Regions from separate parts of the Homo sapiens genome. Here regions 1 and 2 are each linked to region 3. Evidence: promoter capture Hi-C in 16 types of primary human blood cells and fetal thymus (Javierre and others, 2016). All regions are on one chromosome and are shown on one strand. The core of a region is centred on a gene start or on the middle of the fragment in contact, and the rest is flanking DNA. Distances in the headings are between cores, read along the strand shown.

Evidence for each region. The method cuts DNA at HindIII sites, captures the fragments that hold promoters and counts their contacts. A CHiCAGO score of 5 or more calls a contact.
Region 1: a contact is called between a fragment that was not itself captured here and the fragment with the promoter of LYPD6 in region 3, in 2 of 17 cell types (M2 macrophages and M1 macrophages). The highest score is 7.4, in M2 macrophages.
Region 2: a contact is called between a fragment that was not itself captured here and the fragment with the promoter of LYPD6 in region 3, in 2 of 17 cell types (M2 macrophages and M1 macrophages). The highest score is 5.9, in M2 macrophages.

The regions. Positions count from the first base shown.
Region 1 is chr2:149,045,882-149,050,540 of GRCh38, forward strand. All of the region lies in intron 1 of LYPD6B (LY6/PLAUR domain containing 6B), which reads left to right. Among named protein-coding and RNA genes, the nearest start is that of LYPD6B, 9.5 kb to the left of the region's middle. RefSeq lists an enhancer at 3,371-3,580. The HindIII fragment of the contact is 4,023 bases long and covers 1-3,633 here.
Region 2 is chr2:148,997,455-149,001,482 of GRCh38, forward strand. KIF5C (kinesin family member 5C) reads left to right here. Exons shown (of 26, transcript NM_004522.3): 19 at 946-1,055; 20 at 2,969-3,070; 21 at 3,268-3,328. Among named protein-coding and RNA genes, the nearest start is that of LYPD6B, 39 kb to the right of the region's middle. RefSeq lists enhancers at 1,817-2,750, 2,751-3,682 and a silencer at 2,021-2,315. The HindIII fragment of the contact is 719 bases long and covers 2,282-3,000 here.
Region 3 is chr2:149,327,974-149,332,049 of GRCh38, forward strand. It overlaps LYPD6 (LY6/PLAUR domain containing 6), which reads left to right and starts at 2,614. Exons shown (of 5, transcript NM_194317.5): 1 at 2,614-2,749. It overlaps MIR9899 (microRNA 9899), which reads right to left and starts at 2,400; the gene lies at 2,305-2,400. RefSeq lists a silencer at 2,231-2,700. The HindIII fragment of the contact is 3,268 bases long and covers 491-3,758 here.

The sequences.
Region 1 (4,659 bases), core at 372-2,871, 280 kb before region 3:
TTCCAGAAATATCAATTAGGTCAAGTTGCTTGATAGGGTTGTTCAGGTCTTCTGTGTTCTTATTAATTTTCTGCTTGTTTTCTCTATAACCAAGAGAGGAATGTTAGCATTTCCAGTTACAATTGTGGATGTATCTATTTTTCTTTTTACTCATATCACTTCTTACTTCATGTATTTTGACTCTATGTTGTTAAGTGCATACACATTTAGGGTTGTGATGTCCTCTTGGAGAACATCTTGATCCCTTTCTTATTATGTGATGTCCCTCTGTATTTCTGTTAATATTCCTTTTTCTGTAGTCTGCTTTGGGTGTTAATAATACAGATACTCCAGCTTTTTTTGGATTAATGTTTGCATTGTATATCTTTTTGTGTTCTTTTACTTTTAACCTATATTTAGGTTATAAAATAACCTGTATACTTAAGGTGGCTTTCTTGTGGCAACATATACTTGAGTCTTATTTTTTCAACTAATCTGACAATATCTGTCTGTTAACTGGTATGTTAGACCATTTACACTTGCTATGCTATTGATATGGCTTAATTATAATCTACCATCTTGCTAGTTGTTTTCTATTTGTTCTATCTGTTCTTTTTTTTTCTTGTTTCTTGAGCTTTTTTTGTTGTTGTTGTTGTTTATTTTGTTTTTTGAGATGGGGTCCCGCTCTGTCACCCAGGCCAGAGTACAGTGGCGCAATCTTGGCTTACTGTACCCTCGACCTCCTGGTCTTGAGCATTTTTTTATATTTTCCTTATCTCCACTATGGACTTCTTACCTATGCCTCTTTACATTTTTTTAGTGATTGCTCTAGAGTTAATAATATGTATCTTTAATTAATTAGAGTCTACTTTCAAGTAGTATTATACTGTTTCATTTGTAGTCTTATAGCAGTATATTTACAGTACTTCTCTTTTATGTTTTGTGCTATTGTTATTATCATTTTTTAATATCAGCTATAAATAAAAGATTTTTTGCTTTAGACCAGGGGTCAACAAACTTTTTCTGTAAAAAAGCCAGAAAGTAATTATTTTAGGCTTTGAGGCCATAGATGGTCTCTGTTGCATATACTTTTATTCTTAAACAATTCTTTACAAATGTATTTCAAAAAACATTCTTAGTTCATTGGTTATGCTAAAACAGACCAGGGGCTAGGTTTGGCTTGTAGGTTATAGTTTGCTTACTCCTGCTTTAGACATTCAGTTATCTTTTATAGCAATTAAAATTAAGAGAAAAAATAATTTTGTTTGATTTTCATTTATATCATTTCCATCATTGTTTTCTTTGTGTAGATCCAAGTTTTGGTCTGGCAACGCCTGGATAACTTAATTTAACATTTGTTGTAGTGTAGGTCTCCTGGCAATGAATTCTAAGTTTTTGTTTCTCTTTGATTTCTATTTTTCCTGCATCTTTGGGAGATATTTTACTGGGTATAAAATTCTGGGTTGACAGTTTTTACGCTTGATCTTAGCTAAAAGGCTGAGAAGCAATGGGTTGACAATTTAAAAAAAAAATTCAGGACTTTAAAAATGTTGCTTCATTCTCTTCTTGTATGCCTCTGACAAGAAGTCTTCTGTAATTCCTATCTTTGTTCCTTTTCATTTGATGTTTCATTTTTCTTTTGCTGCTTTCAAGATTTTATTTTTGTCTTTGGTTTTCAGCTCTTTGAATATGATATGCCTGGGAGTGTGTGTGTGTGTGTGTACATGTATGCATGCGTGCACACTCTTGATATTTATCATACCTGATGTTCTTGAGCTCCTTGGATCTGTGATTTGGTATCTGTCATTAATTTTGGAAAATTCTCAGCAATTATTTTTTCAAATATTTCTTCTGCCTATTTTCTTTCTTTTCTCCTGAAATTTCAGTTACACCTAGGTTTGAATTTATGATACAGTCCCACAGCTCTTGGGCACTCCATTCGTTTTTTGCTTGTTTTATTCATGTTTTTTCTCTTCTTATTTAGTTTGGGTAATTTCTACTGATCTATTTTCAAGTTCAATGATTTTTTCCTTTGCTGTATCAAGTCCACTGAAGAATGCCTGTTGAAAGCATCCTTTATTTGTTACTGTCTTTAGCCTTTCAAATATTTCCATTTGATTCTTTCCTGCAGTTTTTCTCTCTGATAACATTTTCCATTTAATCTTTCAGATTGTCTACCCTTTCCACTACGGACTTTTATAATTAATTTTGGTTATTTAAAATTCTTTGTCTGATAGCTTCAGCATCTAGGTCTGGTTCTATTCATTGCAATGTCTTTTCGCAGTATGATCTTTTCTTGCTTTTCTCATGCCCTATAATTTTTTTTTGTTGATAACTAGACATCTTATATAGGACATTAGATATGGAGATAGGCTTTATGCATGGGAATGGGCACGCCGTTCTCTTTTTACCAGGCCTTTAGTGTGAAGATTGATCAATCTAGTCAGAAGATGAACTGGGTTTGAGGGTTCTCATTCCTCTGGTTATTCTCAGTGTACCCCCAGACTTCAAATTCCTCTAGTGATGCCTTGTATTTAGGGTTGGAGCTGGCTTGCCAAAGGCCTTTGCCATTCCCATCTTTTGGTCTTCCTGTGGTACTGGGCCCCAGAGTGGTCTGTCTCCATGCTCTTTCAACTCTCCCAGTGGTAGTCCATTGTTATTTGTGACCCGATGCTTGTTAGTCAGTGTCCAGGTACATCTGCCTCAAGTAGACAAGTGCTCATGTCTTGTCTCTTCCTGCAAGTGCCTCTCTAGATTTTGGGCTAGTTTGTTCTCCTTTGCCTCAGTTTTCTCATGGATTTGAGAAGGTTATGATCTTGTGCTTTACCTGGCTTTTTATTTTTTGTAAGCATGGTAATAATGTTCTTTTCAGTTCTCTACATCCTGAGCAGAAATCAAAAGCCCTGATTTCATGTTTTCAAGCTCTTTCTTTTGGTGATCTTCTTGTAAAATACTGGTGTCGTTTCCCTTCCACTTATGCTTTATCAAATATAATTTACACATTTCATATGTATAAATCAGTGGTTCTCAGCCCTTACTTGGGAAGCATGAAAAGGAAACACAGATTTTGGGCCCCAGTGTTTCAATTAATATACGTCAGGATTAGGTATGGATATCGTTTATAAGCTCCCCAGGTGAGTCTGATATTCATCTGCATTGAAAGCTCCTGGTCTAAGTATCACTTTCAACCTTGCCTTTCACAGAGGTGTTATTCCAATGTAAATGGCCAAATGAAGTCTCAGCCTGTTTATGTCCACCCTATAGAATCAGTTCTCTCCTAATGTGCCTTCAGTGGTACACAGTGCCTGTGATCTAAACTGATAGTCTCTTAGAATGGGGAGAAAACTTAAGAGTTCTTCTCATTTCACTTTCAATGACTCTCTCATCATTGAAATGTACCCTTCTCTAATCTACCAGTTTGTGTAACTCACTACCTTGCAAATTGTTTTGAAATTAGTTTGCATGACTCAGTATATGAGCATGTGTGCATGCACATGCACACACACACACACATGCTCTCATACACGTGACACTTTATGAAACAGTAGTTACTCTTACAATAAGTCTTGTACCTCTAAATCAATTACATGATGCACCAATGTGTTGCTTCTTACAGTATGAAAAACACTCGTTCAGTCCATCTTCCAGTGGACAAGCTTTGGAAGGTTTCAAAACAGGTCCCTTAGTACCTCAGAGTGCTCTTGTGTCTGGTGTAAAGCTGATTCCTCCAGCAGTGTTTCCAGCTTCTTCACTACCCTGGCCAGTTTTATGCGCTAGATACTAGAGCCGGTGCTAGGTAACATGCCCAGGATTTCAGAGCTTATGGCTTGTTTGGGGACACATGACATGCAAGGTGAGTGTCAAAAAGTTATGTTGTGAGTAAGTGCTCTTAGAGGTCACAGATGAAAGAAAGATCAAACAGGTGGTCAGGAAAGACTTGATTGGGGCCTTGAAGGTAAGCATCAGATATGTATGGAGTGTAAGGTATTTGGGGATGGGGAGGATTCAGAGGGAGGAAAAAGCTATGTTAGCAGTCTCCCAACACCTTGGCTCTCTCTAGGAGTGACTTGGATTCACAGTAGCTAAGAGAATCTGTAGGCTAGATACAAAGGGGAAATCTAATTTGAATTGTTTCTATAGCAGAGGATAGGCAAAGTACACAGAAGGTACTAGACTCAACTCCCCATATTCCCCTTGCCCCCAGGTCAGAGTCTTCAGGGGCTGTGACTCTGACAAGCGTAGTTTGTATGTTGCTCTGGACTCTATTTCTTGTCATGGTGAGTGAGGTTCAGCTTGCAAGGGGTCAGTTCAAGGCTGGTAGATTTAAGACCTGCCTTTTTGTGACTTCTGTCAAGTTTTGGAGCAATCACCGATAGTTACTGGCCTAGTTTTGTCCACCTTTTCTTCTCGGGGGCCCTTAACCAGCTGTATTACTAAGAAATGTAATTCTCAAAGTATGCTACATCTACTGCTCTTCATGATCCATTTCACCCTGGAGACAGTCTTCTGAGCATTCTTGCTCATTGTGAAACCACGTCACCATCAAAATACTGCACAGAAGCCAGATATTACATCATTGGTATCGTGTTGAAAACATCTCCTGCATTTTGGGACTATTTCACTAGGGTGAAAAACAGAAAATGAAGTACATTACCGAAAAAATAGGCACGGTGTGTTTTA
Region 2 (4,028 bases), core at 1,391-3,890, 330 kb before region 3:
GGAGGGGCTGTTGTTGGGCATTCAGAGTCGATCTCAGAGTATAGCCTGGCTTAGAAATGAACAAGTCCAGAAACCCCAAGATGTCTGTAGAGAATGGTTAAGTTGCGTTAATACCTTTGTCTTCACCATTCCTGATGAAGAGGGAAAGGGTAGCACCCCCAATCACTGCATGGGCTCTTTTGTCGGAGTTAACTTCTAAGGATTTCTTCCTCCAACCTTTACGCAGAACACACCAAATTTGAGTTTCTATCTCAAACATAGAGATTTTTCTTTTGGTCACATTTTAAACTGTAAAGGAAAATTGATTGTGGAGTAAGACTTTTAGGTGAATAAAATGAGACAGGAGAAGATGTAGGATTTTGATTAGTTGTAGGCAAACTATGAGCCTCATTGAGTCAAGGTCCACAGTTAAAGACGTCCACGGCATGCCCTTGCTCCAGCCAGCAGAATAAAATCATGCGTCGTGGGAGTCCCTTTCCTGTTTTCAGAGTGCTGTTGCCAAAAGGTCTCCTTTGGACATCATCATAAATCTGTGCAGTGGGCAGGGCAGGGGCTTTTATCTCAGTTTTACATGTGAGGGAGTGCAGCTCACACAGGTTACAGGCTTATCTGGAGGTTACGTGGATAGGGAGAGGTTGGTGCCCTCTGACTGACCTGGCTGGAGAAGCTCAGGCTGGGCTGTAAAAGGTCAAGGGAACACTTTTTATTTAGTTGGTGGGCTAATTGGCTTCTAGGGCCAACTTGGTTTGATAACAGATCTTGGGTTTTGTTATCCCAATAAAGCAAGGCCGGGTCCTGGGGGCAAAACAGCCAGAAATGCCCCCAGTTTTGGGATCTGACATCTGAGGGACACAGGGAAGGAGGTAGGTCCAGATCCAGGGCTTGTCACAGAGTGGGCTGAGTGCCAACGAGTAGATGACATGTTTCTCTTGGCCTGGGATGCAGAAGGCGCTGGAGCAGCAGATGGAGAGCCACCGGGAAGCTCACCAGAAGCAGCTGTCCAGACTCCGAGACGAAATTGAGGAGAAGCAGAAAATCATTGATGAGATTCGGGAGTGAGTCGGCCCAGGGCACCAGGGGTGTGGGGGTGGTCATGCCTCGGTCCTCTTGGGGAAGCCTGGAAGGATGTGGCTCTTAGTCGAGGGCCCTGCTCACCTTGCCCTGTGGGCACTGCCCTGGTGACACAGCAGGCTGGGCGGGCTGCTTCCAAGGTCTGTTCTCCGATCTGGAGCTGAGCCTCCTGGAGCCCTGGCATGGCAGGTGGCAGGCGGGCCCAGCTGCCTCTCCTAGTCCCCGAGGGCCAGGGTCACATAGGTGATTCCGCTGGATGGACGCATGCCCCAGTAGATGGGGGGGAGCATCTGTAATGAAAGCACCAAAAAAAAAAAAAAAAAAGAAAAGAAAAGAAAAGAAAAAAAAAAAATTTGGTCCTGACTACAGGATTCTAGTAGGTTAATAAACACTCGAGAGAAGACAGCACCACCGCCTCCCCTTCTCCCCCTACACATACACGCTCACTGGGCAACCCAGCCACCTGGTTCCATGTGCTCACTTCTTAGGGCCCCACACTGTCATGTGTCTGTGCAGGTAGAGGTGCCAGTGACCTGTGGCACTGCCACCAGGATGGCATCATTGCAGTTTCTCTCAGGTGACACCCCCTCATGTTGTGCTCCTGCCTTGTCGCAGCCTCTGACATGCCCTCTGCTCCTTCAGAATAATGTTTTCAAATGCTCTGCATAAAAGACCTGGGATTACAAAGAAAACCAATTATATTGAAATGCTGACCTCCCCACCCCCACCCCACCCAGGGTCTACACTGTTCCCTCCCCTCCCGCTTTCTGTAGATGAAGAAACAGATTTCTATATGGGAAGCAAGGCGAAATGATTTACTTAAGGTCACATTGCTAAATAGGAATCAGATTGGAGTTAGACTTTAATTCTCCAGACTACTGATCCAAGTCCCTTTTCAATGTGTGTGAGCCGCTCGAAAGGTGCATTTGCATTTTAAAAGAGGAGAATGGTAACCCAAGCAAAAGTCTAAATGGTGTGACCCAGGCTCGGTGCCCAGTTCCTGAAGGAAGGCACTTAGCCTCCTCCCTCTTTTTCTCCTCTTCGGCCATCCCCTGCTGTTGCCATGTTGTGCTTTTCCCCTTCAGGGATATCTCACATTCGTTATTCTGATTAATCACCCTCACAGATTCGACTGGAAGGGAGGGGGAGGTTGGAGGGAAGGAAGAGGGAGAAAGAGGGTTGGTTGGTGAGTGAGTTAGGTGGAGGGGGAAGCTTCCCTGGCTTGTGCCTTTCAAATGGACTCTGGGTTTTCCTTCTGGTAGTGCATAGCTGTTCCTTTACAGGCGCTTAGGCGTGGCTCTAGGAAAGGTTTTATGAGTCCTGGGCTGATGTAAATGTTGACCAAACACCCTCAACCAGATGGCGAGTTTCTGTTTGCAGCAGAGCCCAGGCTGTCTTTTCTTCATAATTCTCTCTGTGCCCACTCCTCGAGGGCAGGAACTGTCCCTGTATCAGTGAGGCATTCGGACTTGGGAGATGTTTTTAGAACATCAGACCAGAAATGAGGGAAGGTGGAAATGGCCAAATCAGGTTCCCCAAGTGACTGCATGCCATCCGAGGGGCCGAGGAAGCAGAGTTCTTCTGACATGGGCTCTCTGTTTTAAAATATCAGCCCTTCTCCCATCTCATTATTTTTCCCCTGAAGCTCTTGCACAAGCAAACTATAAATACATCCTCAAAGCCTTATGTTTCATGACTCTTAGATGCACCCCAGAAATTAGTTTTCACTTGGGCACGGAGGAAGCTGTGAGGCTGTTCTGTGATCCCTCCAAATCCTGCAGAATTACTGCCTTTATTGTACAGAGCTAATAGGGTTGGAACAGAACCACGGTTTTAGCCTGATGACTCAGAATTTCAGACTGATGTGGAATATATTGCTTTTTCCTCTCAATTTCAGTTTGAATCAGAAACTGCAACTGGAACAGGAGAAGCTTAGTTCTGATTATAACAAGCTGAAAATAGAGGACCAAGAGAGAGAAATGAAGCTGGAAAAGCTCTTGTGAGTGCACTCTAAATATTTCCTCTATTTTCTCTCATCCCCATGATATTCTGGTTAGATTGGGCTAATTTAAAAACAGACAATGGCTATTTGTGTGCTTGTTGGTGGGTTTTGTTGATTTATCTGTGGATGCAAATAGTATCTGCTGAAATCTCTGAGTCCCCTGTGGTGGTCTATGGTTCCTTTTTGTTTTTCAGATTGCTCAACGATAAAAGGGAACAAGCCAGAGAAGACCTCAAAGGGCTGGAGGAGACAGTGGTATGTCAAGATATTTCCCGATTTATGTTTGTCTCCAAGACCGGATTCATTTGTGATTTGTCGGATTATTTCAAAATTTTATCCATGCACACCTTTCTGTGTAATGTTTTAGATAAGACATTCTATGGAAAAGTAGGATTTGTAGAATTTAGTCCTCAACTTTTCACAGAATCAGTCAACCAATCCATCTATCCTTAGAGCAGTAACCTGGAGCCCCTGAGTGAGGATTAAGCTGAATTGCAACTTAGCAATTTTACAGCCCTGCACTTTGTGACATACTTCCACTCAACATTCAACAGATATTTATTGAGCATCTCCTAACGGCTGGCATTCTTCAAGGTGCTTGAATATATCCATAAACAACAGAGATAAGATCCCTGTCCTCATGAAGCTTACCTTTAGCTGTGGGAGACGATAAACAGTAAGGAAACAAATCTTGCACTCTATCAGATTGCTATAGAATGTGCATAGGTTGGTGCCTGGGGGAGGCTCCATGAGGATGTGACCTTTGAGCAGGGACTCGAAGAAGGAGAAGAACTGAGCACAGAGATGTGTTGGGGAGAGCATTCCAGGCAGAGGCAACAGCTCATGCCAAGGCCCTGAGATAAGCCCGGGACTGTCCTGTTGGGGGCCAGCAGGGAGGTTTGTGTGGCTGCAGCTGAGGGAAGGACAGGGATATAAGGTGAGCACAGAGAGGTAA
Region 3 (4,076 bases), core at 1,364-3,863:
TCTCTCTTCGTGCACTCCAGGAGTGTAAATACAATGTATGTTTTCTTCATCGCGTCACTTTGCTCCAGCCTGGGCAGCAGAGTGAGACTCCGTCAAAAAAAAAAAAAAAAAAAAAAAAAAAAGCTTGCTTCTGATGTACAGAAAGAAGGCGTTGCTTAATTCTGCCCCGGGCAGTTTCGAAGACTTGATTTTTAAAAAGGTGGTATTCGAAGTGAATCTTGAAGCAAAGATAGGAACTTGCTGTTGGGGCAGGAGAGAGTTGAGAAGGAAGAGAAGCACAGCATTCTAGCACTATGAAATCTTAGACATGGGTGTGTGAAGGTCCACGGACAGGCAGTTGTAGGTGGAGCAGAACCATCCTGCCTGCGGAACTGTGAGGACAGAAGATGAGACCAACGTGGAAAGCTGGGAACGGACTGGGAAGGAAACGCCTTGCCAACCAGGCTCCATTTGAACTTCCTCACAGTGGGGTTGGAACTGAAGAATTTTAAGCTTGAAAGTGACATGATTACATTAGTGATTCTGAAATAGAGAGGGCAGCGTGTGGTCGACTGGAGAGCAGAGCAGTGAAAGCCTGTTGCTGAAGCGCTGGTAAGGCATGATGAGGTCTGGCAGTGAAATAGAGATGCTGGGAGGGATGGATCTAGAAGTCATCCTAGGAGACAGAAACACAGGACTGGGCGATTGACAAGATGTGAAGGGAAAAGCAGAAGGAAGATTTAACATTTTCGCTCTTCTGATGCCTGAGGAGTGTTGTATGTTGGTAGTCAACATTTTAAAAAAATTTTTAAATTAATATTAATGTTCTTTAGAAAATACCGTAAAGTATAAAGAACAAGAAAACCATCCATTATCCCAACACGCAGAGATAACCACTGCAGACATTTCATATGCATATCTTTCCAGCCTTCTTTGAAAATATATTTCTGAAAAGAGATCCTAAGGGTTCCATCTCTACCAGGAACTCGGCTCTCATAAACTGCATTAATACGTTGAACTTCACTTTGAACCCAAATATGAATATTTTCACTAAACTATGCACCGATTTTTTTTAAATAAAGTGAATAAGTACATGGACCGGAACTGCCAACTGGAAACTAAATGAGTGTCAGCAGTGACACCCGGGACATGCCCTCATTAGTAGATGCTAACCCGCAGAGGTAACCTGCCTAGACACGGAGAGACATTTCCAAGTTCAGGTTGATTAATTCATATTCAATTCATTCACCCTGCTGAGCCCTGCAGGAAGACAGCGCGGCAGCGATCTCCACCTTGAGGGGGCGCTAATTATTTTTTGCCTACTTGAACCCTGAGCTTGGGCAAGCCTGTGCACATACACTAAGAGAAAAACTTTCTGAGGTCTAGCAGCTGTCGATCAAAAATAGGTTATCCTAGGCCCTTCCAAATAGAGGGACTGGGGAAGGAAGTTTAATTTAAAAAAGAGTAAGAATGTTTTTATGTTGGGATGGATAGATTATTGGGAAGGCAGGGTGATTCAGGAGAGGCCTGAAAAAATGCTCCAGGGGTAGAAAATCCAAGGAGAAGGTGGAGGGGTCTCAAAGATCGACAAATAGCCACATGGCGGGCCGCCCTTACGAAGGTAGCCTTGCAGGCCAAGTTCGGGGGGAGGTGGGGAGGCTGGTTCCGAGTTTCCGGGCATATCCGTGGAGTCCTTCCAGACCTTCCTGGGGACCTTCCCCGGTCACCCCGGCTCCCCGCCGGCCCCCCGCGCTGCTCAGGGGAGAGTAGGACTATGACCCACTTCCACTCTAAGGCTCTAGATCGAACCGTCCAGGGGGGTCAAACACGATTTACAACAAGGAAGAGAAAAACCAATACGTCCCAAGAGGGCTGCAGGGGCTTTAACTGGAGGAAGGGTTGGGCAGAGGGTGGCAGTATTATGCCCTGGACTTTTTTGCACCAAACCCATAACCGGATTCCCACTTCCTAAGACCTGCCTTCCTGGCTCTTCCCACCGCCTCCATGCTCCGCCCCGCAGCTTAGGTCTTTTACTGCAAACGTCAAGTGGTCTCCGCCTTCCCTGGGTTCGGAGCTTCACTTGCTCTTGAGCTCTGCGGTCCGGCGGATTTCGCGGGGCCCAGGGGATGGCGGGGAGTGAGATTTGGCCAGGGTCATTTCACACTGCCGGGCCTGCAGCCACGCACGCAGCTGCTGGCCCGGCTGAGGCTGGCGGCTAGGGAGAGGCGCCAGGGGGTCGCGCACAGGAAGGTATCGGTGCACCCTGAGCAAACACTGCTCGCTTCCAACGCTCACTGGGAACAGGCTTCCCGGGAAGGTCCCAAATCTCTCCAGTTCCGCTCACCCTGCGGGCGGGAGCGCGGCGCCCGGGTGCCCCACCTGCGCCGGGCGGTCGGCTCCCGCTGGCCGGAGTTTGCAGACTTGGCGCTCAGGCCGATTCTCCCGGAGTTGGGCCGCGCGCGCCGGGCCAATGAGCGCGCCCCGCGGAGGGCTCCGCTCCCCCCGCGCGCGCTGATTGGTCCCGCGGCCCTCGAGGCCGGGCCGGCCGCGGCTGCGGGCGGCGGCCAGTGCCCGGCGCGAGTGGGAGTGGCGCGCGCGCCCCTAGCCGCCCCCCGCCTCTCCCCGCTGCGCTCCCTCGCTCCTTCCCTGAGCTCCCGGGCTCCGGCAGCGGGCTGGCGGGGCGCCGCATTGCACACTCTGGGGGCGCCGCAGTGTTCGTGGGATGGGGCAGCGGGCTGCAGCTGGCGGCCGGAATCCGCGCGCAGCCCGGGTGAGTAGAGGCGGGCTTCCCGGGAGAGCACAAAAGAACAGGGGATTGGTGCCAGCGGCCCCGGCTTAGGCGGGGCCTGGCCAAGGCAGGGAGTGCGCTGAGTCCCTGGAACTACCCGATGCTAGGGCAGTCCCCTGGGGCCAGAGGAACTGGGGTCCCGGCCTCCGGCGTTTTGCCCCTAGTGGGCAGAGAGCCCCGCGAGTAGCCTGGACGGGTCCAGAGGGGCGTGTGTACTCGTGTGTGTTGGGCTGGCGCGTGGAGGGTGGGATGGAAAGGTCAGGAGCTGCCAAGTTCAAGGCTGGAGGAACCTTTCCCAGGAGTAATTCAGCATCTTCTCACGGCCCAACATGCGTCCACCAGGAACTCCAGCCGGAGGGAGTTCCTGGGCGGCGGACTGGCAGCACCCCACATGTTGCTGCGGGGCGGGGGGCAGTGGCGGTAGCCCGGCTGCGGCCACCCGGAGCCTCTAAGGGAGGTGCAGTGTGCTGGAGGTACCTCCCCGCCGCTGCAAGACCACGCTAGGCCTTTCAGCCATCCACCCCGACAACCCAGGGAAGGGACCATCCACCCACAGAGTTGGGATTTGGCCTGGGCTTGACTTGGCGACCTGTTTTTCTCTCCGGTAACAGCAGTTCCGTTGATTCACATTTGGCTAAGCGTTCAGTTACAACCTAAAGCTCACTATCTGACGGTCTGACTCGCTCTGACCCCCACCATATCCTCACTATCTCTACCGCTGCCCTCCTCCAGTCCCCTCTCCCGCCCCAGTATCTGCCCTGCTCCTCACTGCGGGGCTCAAAACTTGGTGTTTGAGCATGATTGCCTTCGGTGTGGTCCTTGGCATTTTCAAGTGTCACAATCACATCCCGTTTCCTAGAGGACTCCAAAGACTTGTTATAATGGGATCGGGGGAGAGAATTGGGTGGGGGGGAATGGAAGAGGGTCTTTGGTAGTCACTTGTTGGAAGAACAGCATTGACCTCCCAGAGCATATGACAAAAAGAATGTTAAGCTTCTTTCTATGGTAACCTACCCAAGGTGTGACCTCCAAAATTCAATTTTCTTTGTGGGAGGCAAGGGAGTTTAGATTCTCCAGGGGGAAGCTTATTTCTTGTTAAATTGACTTGCGGTGACATACACACTGTTCTGCTCTGCTCTGGCCAGCCATTGCAGATGCCATGATATTATTAGAGCAATTCCCTTAAAGCCATTACATTTTCTTTCGAGTGAGAGGAACTCGAGCTAGCTGTTTAAAATTTTGGATCTGCACCTTATTTCTCTAGAAGACATTAATGGTTACTGTATATGCGCTCACGTGTACCAAGTTT